Regions from separate parts of the Homo sapiens genome. Here all the other regions are linked to region 3. Evidence: promoter capture Hi-C in 16 types of primary human blood cells and fetal thymus (Javierre and others, 2016). All regions are on one chromosome and are shown on one strand. The core of a region is centred on a gene start or on the middle of the fragment in contact, and the rest is flanking DNA. Distances in the headings are between cores, read along the strand shown.

Region 1 (2,920 bases), core at 238-2,737, 880 kb before region 3:
GAACTTATGAATAAATGAGATGACTCTCAGAATATGAACAGAAAAGTCTACTTCTGAACATAAAAATGTAATCAGAAACAATGTTTCCACAGAATAAGATGTAAAGGTATCTGAGAAAAGAGCATGAGGAAGAAAAGTGTGGAAACGGTAAAAAGCAAGCATATGTAACGGATAAATTTCCAGTAGTATGAAAACAAAACTGTCAGTAGGAATAACTGACAGCTTAATGTGACTCCAAAATAAGACTTTAAAATTTTCTCTGAAATTCAGCACTAGAAGCAGCTTGTTAAAGAGAACAGGTCACCAGTGAATTAAGAATCAGGAGACTATGTATCCTTGGGCAAATCCACTTAATTCTCTTGGGCTTCAGTTTCCTTATCTGTAACATGAATCTGGGGAGGTAATCAATACCTGTATGCCCCCTTCGAAAGGTGTTCTTTCCATAATTCTGTATAAGAAATTAAAATCTATTCTCAGACATACAATCATAGCTCCACGATTGTTTTGTTTCAATTTTCATTTGCATCACTTTTTAACATTTTATAAACACATCTCTTCCGATTTCAGAGCATCTAGTCTATAGCAAGCCATTTCGGCTAGCAATTAATCAGTTCAAGTCTGGATGCCAATTTTATTTATTTATTTTTAATGTGAGGCATCCCATCTTTTCCAAACCCTAAGAAACAATGCCTAATCAAGCACCAATTTACCACACATAATGCCCTACAAAAAAGCTGACAAAATTATAATCAGTTCATTCTCTGACTATGCTTCACGCATATTAGCAAGGAATGACATCTAACAAGTCACAACTTAGTGATGAAAACTTGCTGGACCAGAGAACAGCTCCAGGGAAAGCGGCAGGGAGAGGTGGTCAAAGGGAAACAAGGAGGAGAATATCGGCACCCGGATCCGGCTAGACAAGCTGGATGGCAGGAAACGGGTAGGTACTTCCCAGGCCAGGTAGGAACTGGACGCCGGGTCGAGGTAGGCTGTGTTTACACCCCCTCCCACCTCAGCGGCCCCGACCTTCAGGAAACCCCGGGGGTCTCCACCAGGCTGGTCGCGCCCCTCCAATGCTAGTCAGCTGGGGCTCAGGGGCAAGGCGAGAAGAAGCCGTTGCTGCTGACAGGCTCGCAGCCCAGGGCTTCGGCAGGCAGGTACCACCAGCAGACCCCACCCGCCCCTCACGCCTACCCCTGGGTCGGAGCTCCGCAGGCCTCACGGCGGCCGCCACCGCCTCAGCCAAATTGAGGGGCTGCAGCTCCGGAAGAGCAGGCCGGGCACCAGTGCCCCAGCCCGCCCGCCTGCCGCCTCGGCCCAACCTCCCCGCAGTGGCGGCCAGCTTCCGGGCGCAGCACTGCTCGGCACCTAGTTGCCCGACAAGAAAAGTGCAGACATGGTACCTGCGCCTTGGTGCCCGGCCTGTTCCGCCTCAGCACTGCCGTCCCCTCCGCCATGACCATAGTGCCAGCGTCTAGGCGGCTGGAGTCGGTACCCGGATGTAGGGACGGCAGCCTGCGCGGGGGGCGGGGCAGAGCGGCGCTCTGCGTCTGGGAGGAGGAGCGGCAGCTGACGGAACAGCTGCAGCCTGCGCCGGGAGCCGTCCGGGTAGAAGCGGGCTAGGCGGAGGGAGAGGGCGAACGAGGAACAGCCGGACGGCGTCGGGTGGCTACTGGCAGGGACTGAGGCACCGGAAGGCGGGCGCCACGAGCCTCTTTGCGAGGGCTGCGGGGCGGTTTGAAAGGTCGTGATCGCAGCGACCGCTGCGGCAGTGTGCACGGCTGCGTTGCACGTTGGTATGGGCTCTCGTTAGTTACACGGGAAGAACGAACTTCGTATAGTGGCGACCGTTTCAGTAAACCCACCTGCAAGCAAATACTTAGAGAACCGTAATTCTGTCCCAGAAGCCACCTAAGGAATCAGGGTAGAAAACAGGCCAGCAGTCTTGGCAAATTCTATAGAACCTGCGTGAAATCGACCCAATCTGAAATCAGACGGGGGATTTGAGTGTCAGTGTTATTTACGCCATCCGGCGACTTCAAAGCCAAGGACTTTTTCAATGACAAGTTTGTTTACGTAGATAAAAGACGCAGATGTCAATTATGTGAGATGAAGAGTGGACATCTGGTTTTGTGCGTTAGGCAGACAGATTTAGCTCGTGTTTTTCAAGTCAGAAGCAGGAGGAGGAAATTAGTAGTCCTTGACAGGTGGTGAGGGTTTTACATCTTACAGGATTCCACATTTCCTTTGTTGCAAATTTTAAGTGTTCTCTCTTAAGAAACCACAGCATTTTCGCAAACTTTTTTTCCTGCTTAGAAACCTTGAATCTTTTATCTGGGGTGAGGGAGGCCTTGGGATAGCAGATGGGAAGACAGTTCAAAAAGTAAAAAACGCATACAGTAGCATGATTTCCAAAAGAAGAAAACATCAAGTGTCCCTAGATAGAAGGTGTATTGAGAATGCTGAGGGAAGGGCCATGTAACAGCTTCCAGAAATGGAATTTGAGAGGAGAGGAGAGGTTGAGTGGGTCTCTAGCTGAGTAATTGTCAGTGACTTAGAACTAGGCATTGAAGGGTTTAACAACAGGAAGTTGGTTCTCTCTGGAAGATGTATTGACTGGTAACTCTTCAAGAATAGGGACTTAATTTTGCCCTCCCAGAACCAGCGTCTACATATGAAAAGATTATTCGTTCAACAGATACTCATTAAGCCCCACTATATGGTAGGCACTAATGTACAAGTATGATAAGGCTCAGTCCTTCACTACAAATTGCCTTGACTCCAGCAACAGAGACGTGCAAATCACAAATTCTTATACAGGTTAAGTACCCCTCATCTTAAAGTTTGGGACCAAAACACTTTCAGATTTCTGATTATTTTGGATTTTAGAATATTTGCATATACATAATGAGATTTC
Region 2 (3,111 bases), core at 283-2,782, 980 kb after region 3:
CACCCGCCCAGCGGTCACTCCCCCACCCCGGGCGCGGCCCGCGAGGCTCCGCCAACCTCCACAGGAAGGTGAGGGGGGCGCGAGGCTCCGCACGCGAAGTGGATGCCGCCGGCTCCCGATCCCGCGGCCCGCAGCAGCCCAGACCGCACACGAGGAGCCGCGGCGCCCAACACTCTGCCCACCACGCGCTCTGCTTCGGCTGGCCGCCGCCGACTGCAGCAGCTGCGGGAACCCCAGCGCCCGCATCCCCGAGGGAACCAGCCCCGACTCCCCGGTTCTGTTCTCCCTTTCTACCCCCACGCCGTCCCGGGACTCGCAGTCTCCGCCGCGCACGGGGCCGGTTCTGGGGGAGGGAATGTAAACAAATCGGGGTTTTATAGTTACCTCACACTCGAGTGCCGTGTGCATCTCCTCTCCGCTCGGTACCAAACCCCGGCTGCACCAAATCGTGTATTCACCAAAGCAGACTGCGCTAACTGCGTCGCAGAAACCGGCGCGTCTGACACCCTGCTACGCTTGCGGCGTACAAGGTCCACTCAGCTCCCTGCGCAGCCGCACCCCGTCCGCCTATGGGTGCTACGCTATGGGCGTACACGCGCCACCTAGCTATTCACTTCGGATAACGCCAGTTGCGTAAAGGAGTCGCACTACTCACGGATTCCACATGGATCGTCCGAGGAATAGGAAATTCAAGTCTACGCAAACTGCGGAGTTCCGTGGCTCCGCGCTAGTTTTGTTCCAAGAAAGAACGCCGCGGGGGAGTTGGGGCGGCTTCTTAACGCATGCGTGGAGCGCCCTTTATCATTCGCCTTTTCTCCTGGCTTTCGAACGTCGGTTGCTGAGGCCTTGGGCAAGGCGAATGAGTAATGGAAGCTCTAAACCCAAACGCTTTAGCCAAAAAGCTTCAGAGTGATCAACTGGAATGTTCATCTGTATACGAGTTAAACATCTACGTTAAGTTAACCCCGCCCCCTTTGTTAAAGTAACCTTTTCAGTCTCTTAGGGCAACAGCGAACTTTATTTAGTGCTAAGTGCGAGGTGTTTTGCCTAGCTCCCCTTCCCACCCATTTAATTCTAAAGCACACTTACTGCGGGTCTTCCAAACCTAAAAGAAAAAGTTGAGTCCTGAGAACATGTCACACATGTAGAGAAATTCTCGAGGCTTTTGGCAACTTTCCAAGGTCTTCACTCCTCTACTCCTCAACTGATCGACTATTTCTTAACACTCTATGACAAAAAAATCCCGATCCAGCCAAGCAGTTCCATGGACTTGTGCCTACACCGTGCTCATTCTTGCCCTTTGCTCACGCCATACATCCCATCTAAATTGTCTCCTCCCCTCTTAAGCAACCACCAACCCACATTTTCTTAAAAGGTGACTCTGGACGTCTTATTTTTGCTTCATTACTCTGCTTCCTGGCTCTTACTTAATCCACATGTTGAGGCGTATCTGCATTCCGCCTGGGGTGCCTGTGTTTCTATATCCAACCAGAATCTACTTAACACAGCGAGTTCTGGGGGTGCCTTACTGGTGTCTAGTAGAGAAAATAAAACCATGAACAGCAGTAATCGCAGGCTTGACTGTGTGTCAAGTACTCCACATATATATTAATTTAATCACCATAACACGGTGAGGTAGGAAACTGAGGCACACAAGACTTTAACTTGCCTGGTATCACAGAGCAGGTAGAGAAAAGAGTTGGGATTTCCAAACCCATTCAGTATGGACGGCTAGGTAGTCCCGCTAACCTGCATATTATACCTTCATGAAAGAAGGTTATTTTTTGTTTTGTATCTCTACAAAAAACATCCAAAACAACGAAAATGGTGCTTGATAAATGCCTACTGATTGCCATACGTAGTTCAGAACACTGAACTACTCATATGCCCTTTTCCTTGTTTGGAAAGCCAGAGCATGGACCTCACTCCTGCTTACAAAGGGAGAAGTCCTGAGGTGTGGAGAAAAGAGATTAAGCCTGAGTCCTAGTTTCAAGTCTCACCATTGCCACTAAATGTGAGACAATAGCTGTGGTCCTCAGATTCATTGATAAATTAAGGGGATCGTTTTAAATATATTCTAAGGTTCATCCTAGAACTAAAGTCCTTAGAGTTCATAAAATCATGATAGTACATCCTTTGTGTGCAAAGCATAAGAAGCTTCCAAATTAGCTTGATATTTTATGGCTCATACTTATTTTATTGAACACATTATTATCAACACCCTTAAAACATACATAACCTTTCTTTCAAATATCAATAAGATATAGCGCTTGCAGTCCTTACATTTTAGGGCACCTACACTGCTTTTTTAGTTATGGATATACAAGGCTAATGTTCAGCTGGTACACACAAGTACGGCTGAACCAACTAATCAAATACTGAAATACTTCAATGCAAGTTGGTTAACAGCTGCAACTCTGAGTGGTATCCCCCCATGCTTCTCACCCCTGTGCCAGTCCTTCCTCTCAAGATTCCCCAGACCTCCACATTTTAGGAACTAGTGGGTTAATACCTGGCTAAGATAGAGCCCTTTGGACCCAGCTCTTATTAGTCACTCCCATTCTACTTGGTTGGTGCCTATTCTTTACTAATTGTTACATATTTTAAATGTCATCCCTATAGAAAACTATGTGGTAAGCAACTTGAAAATAGAGACTGTGTCTCCTAACACTTTTTAAACTCACCCAAACATTTATTTACTTTCAAGTGTATACACACTGATTTGGGCAGATTTTCAAGCAAAATTATCAGATAGAATAAATGATTCTCTGCATACTAGCATATTACTTTTCCTACTGAGAAAAGGAATCTCAGAAAATGACTTGCAGGCTTACACAAAATCACCTGCTGAGTCAAATAATGGACACTACAGCAACAATATATGAATTTCATTTTATCTTTACCAGTTTTATATATAAGAAATATGTTAGGGTAAAGACTTTCTAATATGTTATAATCATAAAACTTTCTGAAAGTGTAAGACATTTTCTTTTTCCAGCCACCTCACTTGATTCATAAAGAAGCTCATCTCAACTATAAAAATAGTATAAATGATTTTCAGTACCTGGGGGAAAGAGAGGTACTGAATTATGTGTAAATGGTTTACCTTTC
Region 3 (3,241 bases), core at 280-2,779:
GCACTTTGGAAGGCCGAGGCGGGCAGATCAAGAGGTCAGGAGATCGAGACCATCCTGGCTAACACGGCGAAACCCCGTCTCACTAAAAATACAAAAATAAAAATAAAAAAAAAATTAGCCGGGCGTGGTGGCGTGCTCCTGTAGTTTCAGCTACTCGGATGGCTGAGGCAGGAGAATGGTGTGAACCCAGGAGGCGGAGCTTGCAGTGAGCTGAGACTGCTGCACTCCAGCCTGGGCGACAGAGCGAGACTCCGTTTCAAAAAAACAAAAAACAGAATACACAGAGCCTTGAAGGCCATTGTAGAAGTCTGGCTTTTGCTGTCAGTGATTCTCAGAGTCACTGGAGGTCTATAGCTGAGGAATGCTATCCAACTTTCCTTTTAACTGGATCATTTTGACTCCCTCCCACTCCAAATGGTGGAAGAACAAAAGCAGAAGTAGAGATGCTGCTGGCCAGAACCAAGGTGACAGCAGCGGTATTCCTACTGTAAGAAGTGGTTAGTGGTTAGATATACTTGAAAGATAGCTTTTGCTGATGCATTAGATATGAGATATGAGGGAAAGGAAGAAGCCAAGATTACTACAGGGTTTTTGGCCTGGATGGTGCTATCACTGAGACAATGCAAACTTATTAAGGAAGAATCCGTTTTGTGGAAAAGATAAAGAGTAGTTTTTAAAATGTCAAATTTAAAACATGAAAGATACCAAATACATTATTGAATTTGTGGATCTGAAGTTTGGGGGTGAGGTGTGGACTGGAGACTAATTTCTGAAGAGCTCAAGAAAACCATAAGGCGGGATAACAGAGAACACAAAGGATTAAAGGACCTAGTCCTGAGCACGCCAAGATTAACAAATTAGAAGCATGTGTTGGGGGGCATTTAAGACGGACTAATACGAACTTCTCTAAAGTGGGGTTAAAAATAGACATTTTTCTATCTTTAGAGCCTAATACAGTGCCTGGGAAATTATAGGTGGTAAATAAACAGGAGAATACTTCGACAGGAATTTAACGAATGTCTATTCCGTTCTAGCAAGAGCGCCAGGTACTGCGGAAACCGTAAAGAACAAGTGCAAATTCCTGACACCTATATTCTGGTAAGCAAGCCAGGGAGGATTAACTGGTGGCAAAAATCAAACATTAACGCCGAAATAGCCTTCCCAGGAACCTATTAAACTCCAACTTAACACATAAATAAAGGTGGTATTGGGCTTATCTGGAGGCTTCGGTGGCTATCTCCCATCCCTCAGCTGGAGCCAGGCCAATGCAAACTTCGCTCCTAAATGGCTTTCACCGGCAGCCAACGCCAAAGCGCCTTAAATCAGGGCCCTGAGGTCCAGGGAGTGAGACTGGACTCCGTCAGGACAGGGAGAGGGCGCCAGGGAGTGGTGACTGTCCTTATCTGAGCCGAAGCCTCGCGAGCCTCCGACCACCCCTCACCAGCCCGGGGCCCGGCAGCCTCACCTTACAGTCCATCTGTCCGCCTGAGGCTCCGTACTGCAGCAGGCGAGCGGGTTTCCGTGGAACTAACACAGCATTTTAAACCAACCCGCTCCCCGGCGCAGTAGCTCCGGTACGCAGGCGCACCCGTGGCAGGGCATGTCGGGAACTGTAGTTTTCCCGGCCCAGGAGGGCCCTCAGCCCTGGGCGGGACCCAGGCCGGCATCCGGCGGCGCTCAGGGAATGCGTAGCGCCGTGAACCGAATGGCGGCAGGCTCCACTGTGCTCGCGAGCGGGGCACGCCGGGATATGTAGTTTCCGGCGCCTGCCCTCCGGGGGGTCCTGTGCTGCCCACTTCACAGTGACTTGTCTCCGCCTGGTGAACTCGCGGTGTTCTGCTAATCTTGGTAAATACATACCCTACAGCAGAGTAACGAGCATAAAAATTGGTTAAAAATTCAGAGCTTAAACATTCTTCTCGTTAAAGGAAAAATCAAGTCCCTCTTCGTCCTCGTCCATGATGGCCACATGGAGAGTAAAACACAGAAATCTGTTTTCAGGTCTTTCGTCTCTTCAGCATAAATTATTTCTTGCCCTGTCTACAAGTTAATAGGTATTTGTAAATCTGAGTGTAAGTAGCTATGAAACGGAAAAGAGCATTGAGCTGTCCCTGGTTTTTTTGGTGGTTTGCTTTTTTGAGATAGGGTCTTCCTCTGTCGCCAAGGGTGGATTACGGTGGTGCGATCTCGACTCACTGCAGCCTCGACCTCCCGAGCTCAAGCGATCCTCCCATCTCAGCCTCCCCAGTATCTGGGACCACAGGCGCGCGCCACCACGTCTGGCTAATTTTTGTATTTTTTCGTGGAGGCGGGGTCATCACCATATTGCTCAGGCTGGTCTCTTTGGGCTCGAGCCATCCGCCCACCTCGGCCTCCCAAAGTCCTGGGATTACAGGCGTGCATCACCACACCAGCGTTTCTGAGTTGTTTTGCTTTAAGAATATGTATTCTCACTTAAGGGAAAGCCTTCTATAGTGCAAAGACGCGGCTTTGCGTTTTGGTAGCTGGACAGAACACCTGTTATCCCTGCCAGGGCAATTAAAATGCATTTCTCTCTTCTCCCTGAGAGTGCAGCCAAGAATCACTTCAGCCCTCTCATATAAGCAATCAGATCCGAGATGAGAGCTCATTTACTTAGCCTGACAATTGATCTTGCTATTCTAATTCTTTTCATAGCGGAGCCTCAATGTGAGATGCAGAGACTGCCCATCAAACCACAGCCATATTCATCAAGCTTTGAGCCGATCCGGTGAAGAGAAATGAGCACTGCATACATTATTCAGAGAAAGGGACCAAATAAAGCTTTTAATAGGAAATGAAAATGTATTTTAAAGCGTCAGTGCAAACAGCCAATTATTTTCATTATGTATGTTTTATCTTGCAATGACCTCTGGTTTATCAGTGGAATTAAGAGATGAGTGATACATGTATCCACGTGTTTTTGTGTAATGAGAGTTTTCACCTTCTCCTCAAATCTCCATATTAAGCAGCAGTCAGGGAACCAAACTGATTAAATTCGTGTTTTTCATTTGTTTTCCCTTATTCACTGTCTGGCAAACCGTATAAGAACTTAAGCAATTACAGAGTTAGAGAAAAGGACCTGAAGTCTTCAATAAACTTGAAATCAGGGAGTATAGTCCTCCAACTTTGTCCTTTTTCAAATTTGTTTTGGCTGTTCCTTTAACTTTCTAGTTCCTTTACCTTTCTCCCAAATTTTTTGAATCAACTTGTTGATACCTAC
Region 4 (3,139 bases), core at 375-2,874, 570 kb after region 3:
TTTTCTTTTTGGACTTTTTACCAACTCAAATTATTCATTTATTAATTTACTTATTTTTTTCTCACTAATTTTCCATTTCTCTTTCCTAGAACAGAAACTGGGATCTTGGCTGCTCTCTGTATCTCTCATGCCTAGAATGGTGTCTGGCCTACTGCAGGTAGGAAATATTTGTTGACTGAGCAAGATGAGGATAATGAGTACAAGTATCAGTTCACAAAGAGAGAAGCATGGCAAAACAACAACAACAAACCAGATTCTGGACTCTGTTTTAAGTTGTACATTTGATTTTCCCAATCTTATACTCCATCCTAAGGTAACAAAAAAGCTGCCACACTGCCTCAAAGGAGGATGTAAAATAAGCTCTAGCACTCCTTGCTTCCTTCCACACATGCTACAGTTTCAAAAGCAGGAGGTAAAAAAAAAAAAAAAAAAGTAGTAACAAATAACAACATAAAAAGTCAGAACTCAGCAGCTGCATAAGCTTACACAATATATTTTAAGGGAAAAAAAAAACATAGTCTTGTAAAAAATTCCCTTAGAATCAGCACAAGTTTGGGCATAAAATTCCTAAGCAAACATTTGGTTCATGTCTAATAAAATCATTTTAGCAAAAAACATCCAAACCATAAGAGAAAACACAAGATCATAAATGTAACTGAAGTTCAAGCTCAGGGAACCAAAATATCAGTAATTCAATTTCTTTTCTTTATTTGGTCTTTCATATTTGGTTAAATGGAGGAACCAGTTTTAGTCCCCAGATACCTTCTTTTAAAATGGACTTCCATATTTATAGATTAGTAAACCAAAAGCATACAGACAGCTTTACCCAAATCAAGCACTAAGTGCAAAAGAGGATCTTTCAAGAGACAAATGACAAGATTGATAAAGTTCCTTTTTATAATTTGTGAGATACAGTGGTCCAACATGTCTAAACAAAAACTTCATTCAGAATATTTTGAGAACTGTATTGATTCTTATCAGGATTTTGCGCTGGTCTTAACCTGAACAGTGGGGACAGAGATTAGCTAGCTTATTTCTCCCATCTCAGCATTCAGTATAATTGGTGACATTACTGATTATTGTGAGAATTACTCTAAGAAGTCAGTGCTGAAAGCCACATTCCTCTTGCTTGACAGGGATCACGATAACTGACAAATACAAAGGAATTGTCCTTGCCAATTTTTAAAAAATTACTTTCCTTCCATAATTCTGGCAAGATACCCACCCAAAGACAAATTTAGAAACAGGATTCTGCAAATCAGAGGTTGACTCCAGGGTTGACCTGAAAATAGAGGTTGACTCCAGCTATATATGGTGGCCTAGTGGAGGCAATGTAGCAAGTCAGAATAGCCTGATGTTTGTAGATTTCAACGATGGCTTTTGAGATTGAAGGTGAATGGACAGTGAGATAGCAGAGGATTGAAGAAGGAAAGCTGGCAGATGGTAAAGAGTGGAAGGTGGATGGCTAATGTTTTTAGGCTCATCTGTGTCTCATGCTGTTGCTGTGAATCCCTCAGTGTCTCCTGGCCTGCTCATGTGGACTATGACCCTCCATGAAGCAATCCAGTTAACCTTGAACTTTTGCCAAGAATCTGAAACTCCTTCTAAACACCTCGGAACTGCTGGGACTAGTTCTTTTGGCATCAGGTTGGCAGCTGCTAAACGTAGTACACCTTTATATCTGTTGGTTATTGCCTGTGGAGTAAACCCTTGAGGCAATCTTTTTTTTCTTAAGTGCTTTTTGCTTCTAATTGGCTGACTGAACCCCCTAGTACTTTACTGACTTTCAACGCTTATCACTGTACCCTTAGGCTATGAAACAAAACTACATCTTCAACCCATTCTGAGAACTCTATTCTTATCTCCAGGTCTTTAATGAAATTTGTCTCTCCCTCAAGCCTATTTCTGTTTAGGCTTTTCCATTCTTCCAAGTTTGGGATATGGGGTCTGCAACATTTATCTTCTGTTTTCCACTATGAATTCTTACTAATCTTAGGCTCATAGCATCTCCTCTCCTTGACTCAGCTTCATTCGTTGAAGACATCGGCTCACAGTTCTCCCCTACGCTATGCTACTTCAGCATCCATGCGAACAGCCATAGCTTGAGGAACTTAGTTCCTTGACCTTCCATGGCAAAGTCCTTTACTTCAGTCCCCACTTCTGTGGCCACACTGGGGACATTCTCAACACCTGGAATAGCTCTACTTCTGAAATCACAGAGACAATACCCTCACTGCTTCACTTTGTGTTTTGAGAGTTAGTTTCTCTCACTATGTCACCCTTTCTGAGACCCTCTCCATCCCATTCCCTTTCTCCACAGTTAACAGTCCTTTCTTCCTCTACTCATTATTTTAGTTTCTGTGATTTTTTATTTCAACTTCACTCTTATCAGATTCTCTATTCTCATGCTCTGTTCTCCTGTTATACCAGCCTGGGAAAGACACTGTGTGTTTGTCTTCTCTGAACCTAAGTCTGGTCTGTTGAAGACCTTTGGAGAGTGGTGCAGAGCCAAGTGGATAGTGGCTGGCGCTGATTCAGAGGCTTCAACTTCAGCTGAGCTTTTCCTCTATTTCTTTAATCACTTTTGTTCTCTCTCCATTTCTGCCACATAGTCATTGAAACTTCTTCCTCCTCAAATTTTTGACCATCCCCTGCCTCCTACCTTTCTTCTCGTTCTTGAAAGGTGATTTTGCTTTCTATACCACAGAAAAAATAAAATTCATTTTTTTTGGGGGGGGATGTCCCCAACTACACACAAGCAAGCTTTAAACACCCACATTTCCACTCATCCTTCCTTCTTCTTCCTTTTACAAGGCGTGCTTATAAGATCTCTCCATCTGAAATTAATCCTATCTCCTTTTACTTTTTCCTCTATCTTCATCTTCTCCTTTCCTATTTGCATTTAAACACAAACAAAACTTTCCTATTTGAAAAAATATAGTGCCTCTCTCCCTGAATCCATTCAGTCCCCAGTCTATCTCTCTTATTCATAACCTAAACTTTCTGAAGATTGTCTATTCTGGCAGTCTCCCTCCTTTCACTCTTCAGCCTCTGGAATCTGGCCCCAAATCCTCCCACTGCATTGTACTGAAACTCCTTTGCCATGTTCACCAATGACTTCCTTGGCACTCTATCCAAT

Evidence for each region. Contacts are between HindIII fragments. The CHiCAGO score rates a contact against its expected background, and 5 or more counts as called.
Region 1: a contact is called between the fragment with the promoter of MOB4 here and the fragment with the promoter of CCDC150 in region 3, in 1 of 17 cell types (total B cells). The highest score is 6.2, in total B cells.
Region 2: a fragment that was not itself captured here is called in contact with the fragment with the promoter of CCDC150 in region 3 in 1 of 17 cell types (fetal thymus); the score reaches 6.1 in fetal thymus.
Region 4: a fragment that was not itself captured here is called in contact with the fragment with the promoter of CCDC150 in region 3 in 8 of 17 cell types (total B cells, monocytes, total CD4 T cells and 5 more); the score reaches 9.3 in total B cells.

Annotation. Positions count from the first base shown.
Region 1 is chr2:197,514,633-197,517,552 of GRCh38, reverse strand. MOB4 (MOB family member 4, phocein) reads right to left here and starts at 1,487. Exons shown (of 8, transcript NM_015387.5): 1 at 1,407-1,487. The coding sequence starts at 1,466. The region is part of intron 2 of HSPE1-MOB4 (HSPE1-MOB4 readthrough); the gene reads right to left. RefSeq lists a silencer at 1,429-1,648. The HindIII fragment of the contact is 18,120 bases long and covers 1-2,920 here.
Region 2 is chr2:195,654,555-195,657,665 of GRCh38, reverse strand. SLC39A10 (solute carrier family 39 member 10) reads right to left here and starts at 440. Exons shown (of 10, transcript NM_020342.3): 1 at 385-440. RefSeq lists silencers at 1-91, 122-171. The HindIII fragment of the contact is 1,255 bases long and covers 905-2,159 here.
Region 3 is chr2:196,638,003-196,641,243 of GRCh38, reverse strand. CCDC150 (coiled-coil domain containing 150) reads right to left here and starts at 1,529. Exons shown (of 28, transcript NM_001080539.2): 1 at 1,466-1,529. The coding sequence starts at 1,477. It overlaps LOC105373823 (a long non-coding RNA gene), which reads left to right and starts at 1,559. Exons shown (of 2, transcript XR_923747.3): 1 at 1,559-1,848; 2 at 2,677-2,816. RefSeq lists enhancers at 668-1,205, 1,206-1,743, 1,728-1,777, 1,798-2,017. The HindIII fragment of the contact is 4,677 bases long and covers 1-2,736 here.
Region 4 is chr2:196,072,156-196,075,294 of GRCh38, reverse strand. No RefSeq gene overlaps it. Among named protein-coding and RNA genes, the nearest start is that of DNAH7, 4.9 kb to the right of the region's middle. The HindIII fragment of the contact is 2,282 bases long and covers 484-2,765 here.